Linked DNA regions of Homo sapiens: region 2 is linked to region 1. The links are contacts of gene promoters, found by promoter capture Hi-C in blood cells and fetal thymus (Javierre and others, 2016). All regions are on one chromosome and are shown on one strand. Each heading gives the region's core, a stretch centred on a gene start or on the middle of the fragment in contact. The rest is flanking DNA. Distances are from core to core; before and after follow the strand shown. Region 1 holds the start of LINC01996 (long intergenic non-protein coding RNA 1996). Region 2 overlaps SPNS2 (SPNS lysolipid transporter 2, sphingosine-1-phosphate).

Region 1 (3,798 bases), core at 140-2,639:
ACAGGCGCCCGCCACCACGCCCAGCTAATTTTTTGTATTTTTAGTAGAGACGGGGGTTTCACCGTACTAGCCAGGATGGTCTCGATCCCCTGACCTCGTGATTCGTCTGCCTCGGCCTCCCAAAGTGCTGGGATTACAGGCGTGAGCCACCGCGCCCGGCCAGAAATACAATTTTTTGAGACAGAGTTTCACTCTTGTTGCCCAGGCTGGAGTGCAATGGCTCAATCTCGGCTCACTGCAACCTCAACCAAATTGAGGTAAAACACTCAATTTGGACATCCACAGACTCCCCAAAGTCCTGGGCTATGAACCCTAATGTAGAAGAAGGAGCATAGAGCTTAGGTCACAGCACATAGGAGCAACAAGCCGAGGAGAGGAGGCTCTAATGAACAGAGGAGGGAAAGCAACAGCCAGAGAGGAGGGCAAGCCAGGAAGAGCCTCGGCAGCACAAATGCCACTCAGTCTGCAAACCAGATAAGGACGCTTGCACTGGGAGTGATTAAAACTCAGATCCCCGGCCGGGCGCAGTGGCTCATGCCTGTAATCCCAGCACTTTGGGAGGCCAAGGCAGGCGGATCACTTGAGGTCAGGAGTTCGAGACCAGCCTGACCAACATGGTGAAACCCCGTCTGTACTAAAAATACAAAAATTAGCCTGGCATGGTGGCGGGCGCCTGTACATCCAGCTACACAGGAGGCTGAGGCACGAGAATCGCTTGAACCTGGGAGGTGGAGGTTGCAGTGAGCCAAGATTGTGCCACTGCACTCCAGCCTGGGTGACAGAGTGAGACTCCGTCTCAAAAAAAACAAAAACAAACAAAAAATCAGAACCCTAAAGATCGATTTTATATCCACCTACGTGACAGTAAGAAAGCTGGATCAACTTCAGGAATGAAGGTGGACAGTCAAGACCTACGGTAACACTGTCTGGTGTCTCTCTGGTGCCACCACCCACATCACCTGCCTCTGGTTCAGGGCCCCTTCCCAGCTTGTCATCCCACCTACCTGGACCTTGTCCCTCCAGTGAAGGCTGCCCGGATGCCTCAGAGAGCACAGCCTTCTTAGCTTCATTCTTCCGGAGTGCTTTTCCTTATTTGGTGCTTTCTAGGGAGTAGGCAGGTCAGGTCTTAGGGATTTTTCTTTCTTTCTTTCTTTCTTTTTTGAGACAGGGTCTCACTCTATCTCCAGGCAGTGGCACAACCATCGCTCACTGATGCCTTGACCTCCCAGGCTCAAGCCATCCTCCCGCCTTGGCCTTCCAAGTAATGGGGACTACAAGCATGTGTCACTACACCTGGCTAATTTTAAAACTTTCTGTAGAGACAGAGTCTCACTCTGTTGCCCAGGCTGGTCTCAAACTCCAGAGCTCAAATATTTGTCCTGTCTCGGCCTCCCAAAGTGCTAGGACTACAGGCATGAGCCACCGCGCCCAGCCTAGGAATTTTTAAGGTGTTCTTTCAAAAGACTATGAGGGCTGTTTGGTATCAAAGCAAGTCCAAGAACCAAGAGATAAGAGATCAAAAGCTCTAAAAGCAAACCCAATCCAAGCTTTAAAAGTGAGAGAGATAAGATGGCTCAGAAATAATCATACTGGGTCCATTTATCAGGTGGTTGGGAGAGCACAGCTAACAGAGGGAGAAAAAATAAATCAAGTGGGCCACGTCCACAGGCGTAATCAACTCATCAGAATGAGTTGGTCACCTGTCACCAGCTAGAAAAACCCAAGCCAGAGTTGGTTCTGCTGGACTGGTAAGATGTCCCACCCCAAACTGACCAACTGAATCAGCATTTCTAGTCTTCTGTGCAATTGCCTGCAGTCGTATAGACCCGGTCATGATGGCAGAGAATAAAATCTTCTCTCACACCGGTCTCCAGTTACAGAGTTCTGATCACTGCAACCGGGAAAGCTGAGAACTCTTCATCATCTAGCACATTTGCGAAATTCATTGGCTTTAACAAACTGTTCCCCAAACACCTGGCCTGTGCGGTCTCCTCTCACCAGCATGTGCTCTGTCATATTCAGAAAGTGCTTATAGGCTCTCGCTTGCCTTGAAAAATATCCATCAGCTATCAGAAAAGCTAAAACCCATCGTGGCTCTGGTGAAACGTTCACTTCAGGGAAACACACAAGCCAATTTGGTCCGACTTAATAAGTTTAACAAAATCCAGGTGAAGGAATCTATCTGGAAAAACAGAAGACTCTTATGAGCAGCTCCAAGAAATAATTCTCTCGGGAAAGGGGAAAAAAGATGTGAATTCCTCCATACCAGGGTAGAAAGCAAGATGAAATTGGGTCTCACAAATGGGGAACATTCACGTAACCCCGACCTAAAACGGTGGTTTCCAAATATCTTAGGATTGTGAGACCTTCCTGGATTTTCTTCTCATGCTTTGTCTTAGAGGTAAAATCATGTTTGAAACTCACAAACTGTCTTATGATCTCTCACCCCCCACCCCCAACAAAGACCACAGACAAGAACATCATGGAACCAACTTTAAAAACTCGAGTCTGTCTCATTCTGAATGTGAGACATGAGGGACACCATTCCTAAAGTTTAAAAGAAATTGTTCTGCATTCTGGCAGGATCTGCTCTGTTTCATGCGCAGAGCGTACGGCCATGTCTGCAACTCGGGAGAGCTCCATTTAACGTGTGCGAGGACTCAGTAACATATAGCCATGCTTTTTACAGAGCCCTTGTGTTCCCAGATTGGCTTCAGGTTTGAAACCCTAACCTTCAGTTATGTGTCCTGTTAATAATAGGTCTCACCTCCCCAAGCGTACAAGAGACGAGAGAGCTAGCAAGGGAATGGTTTCCAGAGTGGGAGAATCCGAGAGAGAGGGCAAGACTGCAGCCTGGACCAACCAATCCATGGAGAATACTGCTCACCCACCTGCAGGCTCTGCCATGTTCCTCCTGACACCCCCAGGGATCTCCTGCCCACCCCCCAATATACCACCCAAGGGACACGTGGGACCCCACAAAGGCACACAGGCACTGGTGTTGAGAGCCGGCTGCATGAGGTGAAGACACAGATCCGCTCCTTAAAGGGAAGGTTTAGAAGTGCATGGCTAAAATCCAACCCAATTATACAATGATTCTTGGCTGAGAATAAGCTAATGGCTGGAGCTCTATAGAATCTCAAGATTTTTCTATGAAAGTCCTACCACCAAACAGCTGTGAAAATAAACCAACGTTCCTTGATGGGCTTCCTCCAAGTGCGGGACCACCCCAAACCCTGCTGTCTTGGGCCACTGTTTATCACAAACACTGCGGTCTACATCCAGAGGACGGATCTCAAGGGGAACTTTCTGTTGACGCTCCTTCCACAACATGGAGATGGGAGACAGGCACACTCAGAGATGATCAGAGATGACAGCAAATGCCATCTTCAGCTTTCCAGGCCAGTGATTTAAGTGCAGGAACAGGGGTGGAATGTAGTGGATATTCACTTGGAAGGTGTGCAAAGTCTCTTATTCACAGAACTCCCATCTCCTAAACAGAAATGACAAACCCCAAGCAAAATTCAACACATCTTTTTTATGTATAAATGGGTCAGTGGTACAGAGGGAGTTACTTTTTATAAATATCTGCAGCAAATCCCCTAAAAAAGATGTGAATAAAAACTCTCTCTCAGCACAAAGGGCCTATTCCTTCCCCAAAAGTGTTAAATTCCCGAGAGCCTGTGCTTAGCCAAACACTTGTGGGGCCTCCTGGGAAGAACAGGAGGACTTTGGGACCGAGAGGAGAGCCTTCCCATCTCCCCGGAGAGCGGAGGTGACTTGAAGGTCATCTGTTGC
Region 2 (3,657 bases), core at 1,158-3,657, 93 kb after region 1:
GAACCCCCACGGGCCCTCGGTGTCCTGGTGGGCAGCCCCAGGACCCCTGTCCATGGTGAGCGGAGCCATCCCCATGGCACACATGGCCTGTATGACCCCAGAAAGCAGTTTTGGAGCAGGAAAGGGCAAGTCTGAGCTTGAGGGAGCCCTGAGCCCCCGCCCTGTGGCCTTGGAGCCTGCATTCAGCCCTTGCTTCGGCCTGGGCTGAGCCACGGCTATTTTTACATGGCTGATCTGTTATTTGGAGAAGACCTACCATCCTCCACATCCTGTGGGCAGGGAGGGTGCTCAGGCAGGCATGGGTGGGGCGGGGGCCAGGCTCTGCCATCCAAGGGACGGCCTGGGCTGGCCAAGCTGACGGAGAATGCTCAGGACAGATGGCCCCATCAGCGCCTGAAAGCTCACCACGCTCAGACTTCCCGGTGGAAGGACGGGAACACCTGCTCTGTGATCCCCTACTCAGGATGTAAACCTTGTGTTGGGCTCTCAGGCCTCAGGGTGAATGAGGTTTTGGGGCCACTCCTTGAAAAGGAGGGCTTTGGGGAACAGCCGCAGGGGCTGCCCGGCTGTGCCTTCAGAACCCAAGTCTGCTGAAGCAGGAGTCGCTGGGCTGGCCAAAGACGGGAGGGGAGAACAGGCAGAAGGAGACTTACCCCCAAAACAGAGGCACTGTCTGGTTTCGGTTTGAGCTGGCTCTTCCTCTGTCCCCACTCTCCCTCCGTTCCCCCATCCCCATCCTGGCACTTCCTCGTGAGCCTACAAACCCCGGCCCTGAGTAGCCTTCAGCTTCCTCTGCTGCCCCTTCCCACACTTGGTCCCAGAATGAATATCCTGAGACACACATCTTTTTTGTTTGTTTGTTTTTGTTTTGTTTTTGAGACGGAGTCTCGCTCTGTCGCCCAGGCTGGAGTGCAGTGGCGCGATCTCGGCTCACTGCAAGCTCCGCCTCCTGGGTTCATGCCATTCCCCTGCCTCAGTCTCCCGAGTAGCGGGATTACAGGCACCCGCCACCACACCCGGCTAATTTTTTGTATTTTTAGCAGAGACGGGGTTTCACCATGTTAGCCAGGATGGTCTCGATCTCCTGACCTCGTGATCCACCCGCCTCAGCCTCCCAAAGTGCTGGGATTACAGGCGTGAGCCACCGCGCCCGGCCCGAGACACACATTTTACACGGACTGCCCTGTTCCAAAACCTTCTCTGGCTCCCTACTGCCCCAAGACAAAACCTACATGCCTTATCTTGGCCTTCAAGCCTTTCACACTCAGACCCTGCCCACTGTCCAGCCTCTTCTCCTTCTGTTCTCCCCATACGCCAACCCATGGCCAATGGGCCACAGGCCACTCGAGTCAGGCAGTGCCACAAACAGCCTTCGTTCTCCCTCACCCTTCCCTGTGTTGCATTGACGCTGATTTCCTCAGATCTAGCTTCTAATTCACTTTTCTTTTCAACTAGGTGTAGTCTACTCATTAACTCACCTAATTATTCCATTTTTTATTTTAATACATATTTTTCACTTCTGGTATTTTCGAATATTAGTCTTTTAAACATTTTCCGGTTCTCTTTTCATAATGTTCTGTTCTTGTCTTACAAGTCCTATCCTTTCCTTTAGAGCTTTGAATATTAAACACACCTAATTTTAAAGTCCCTTTGTGACGAATCTGTTTTCCCATCTTCAGGGTCAGCTGACTCCCTCTCAAAAAAATGAGGGAGAACTGTATGCTCTATTAATTTTTTTTTTTGAGACGGAGTCTTGGTCTTGTTACCCAGGCTGGAGTGCAGTGGTGTGATCTTGGCTCACTGCAACCTCCACCTCTTGGGTTCAAGCGATTCTCCTGCCTCAGCCTCCTGAGTAGCTGAGATTACAGGCGCCCACACCATGCCCAGCTAATTTATGTATTTTAGTAGAGATGGGGTTCACCATGTTGGTTCAGGCTGGTCTCAAACTGCTGACCTCGGGTGATCCACCCGCCTCAGCCTCCCAAAGTGCTGGGATTACAGGTGTGAGCCACCGCGCCTGGCCTGCTCTATTAATTTTGAATTTGAGTTTGTCTTCAGTGGAAATTGTCCCGTGTCCCATGCAGGCTCTGGGTCATGAAGAATTCCCTAAGGAATGGTTTGGGATTTGCTTCTGCCAGGGTCCCTGGAAACAGAGGGGGCCTCTATGGGGAAGGAAGTGGAAGCCCCAGGCCTGTACGGAGCAGGGGCTGGAACTAGCCAGCGCCAGGTGGGAAATGCCCATTCTCGAAAGGGAACTCTACCAGAAAAACTACCCAGCAGCCTGGGGACACAGCTTGGAATCAGGAAGCTTGGATGGAAACAAAATCACCCACGGTTAGAACGAAGAAACCCCAGGCCCGGAAACTGAGCCAGGCGGGCGTTCCCTTGATGAATCTGGGTGATGTGTTCTATGGAAGTTCGTTGCGCCATTCTCACTACTTTTTATGTCTGTTTAAAATTTTTCATGATAAAAATGTTTATATTGAAAATACCGTAACAAGCTTCGAAGACGTTTATCTGGTCCCTAAACACTCTGCATCACTTGGCTTCAATTCTAGCTCCCACTCCGGTTTTTGAGTTCAGCTCTCTGCTTCTGGCATCTGGGAATTTCCCTGCTAGCTTTAGCTGTCAAGCTCAGCTTTGTAATTTCAACATGTTTTCTTGGCATATTTTATCTAGCTTGGAGGGGAAAGGAGGGCTTCACACATCTACTCGATCTCACACACTGACTACAAACTCTAACTCATCCTTCAAAGCCCCATTCAAACGTCTCCTCCTCAGGGAAGTGTTCTCCGCGGCCACCGGCCAGAGCTAGGTGCACGCTCTCTGCCGTCCACCCAGGCTCCCACAGCCCCCTGTGCCTGGGTGGTGGCTTGATGATACGTTTTCTGCCCCCATAGATAGAGGGAATCTACCTGAGGGTAAGAACTGAGTCTGGGCAGAGCCCAGCACACGGCCTGCCAGGCAGTAGGTTCAGTGGCAGCTGCTTCTCTAGGTGTAGGCCATGGGGGCTCCTGATTTCCCAAAACAGCAAAACCTATGAGCGGTTTTTTTGTTTTTTTTTTTTTTTTTTTTTTTTTTTGGGGAGATAGAGTCTCACTCTGTCACCCAGGCTGGAGTGCAATGGCGCAATCTGGGCTTACTGCAATCTCCGCCTCCTGGCTTCAAGCGATTCTCCTGCCTCAGCCTCCCGAGTAGCTGGGATTACAGGCATCCACCACCACACCTGGCTAATTTTTGTATTTTTAGTAGAGATGGGGTTTCACTATGTTGGACAGGCTGGTCTCGAACTCCTGACCTCAGATGATCCACCTGCCTCAGCCTCCCAAAGTGCTGGGATTATAGGCGTAAGCCATAGGCGCCCAGCCTATGAGCTGTAATTCTGCTGTGGGCTTTCAGAGAGCCTGAGATATGGCTCCTGCAGGGGGTCCAGGGGCCAGGTCCAAACCAGCAGCCATCTAATCTGCAAAGGGGCTGCTGAAAGTGGGCTCATCCTCAGCAGTTTTCCTGCCTGGTCCCAAGAGGGAAACAGCAGGGGCAAGCCCAGGCCTAACCCTCAGCCACCCCCACTCCCTGTCTCCTGGCCCAGCAGCCCCTGGTGCCACAAATAAGCAGGCAGCCCAGCTCTCAGCCCTGGCCCTTTGATCTGGGCAAGCA

Evidence for each region. Contacts are between HindIII fragments. The CHiCAGO score rates a contact against its expected background, and 5 or more counts as called.
Region 2: a fragment that was not itself captured here is called in contact with the fragment with the promoter of LINC01996 in region 1 in 2 of 17 cell types (M1 macrophages and M2 macrophages); the score reaches 6.6 in M1 macrophages.

The regions. Positions count from the first base shown.
Region 1 is chr17:4,608,040-4,611,837 of GRCh38, reverse strand. It overlaps LINC01996 (long intergenic non-protein coding RNA 1996), which reads right to left and starts at 1,389. Exons shown (of 2, transcript NR_145431.1): 1 at 1,005-1,389. It overlaps SMTNL2 (smoothelin like 2), which reads right to left. Exons shown (of 8, transcript NM_001114974.2): 8 at 3,519-3,798. The HindIII fragment of the contact is 12,447 bases long and covers 1-1,549 here.
Region 2 is chr17:4,515,742-4,519,398 of GRCh38, reverse strand. All of the region lies in intron 2 of SPNS2 (SPNS lysolipid transporter 2, sphingosine-1-phosphate), which reads right to left. Among named protein-coding and RNA genes, the nearest start is that of SPNS2, 19 kb to the right of the region's middle. The HindIII fragment of the contact is 193 bases long and covers 2,311-2,503 here.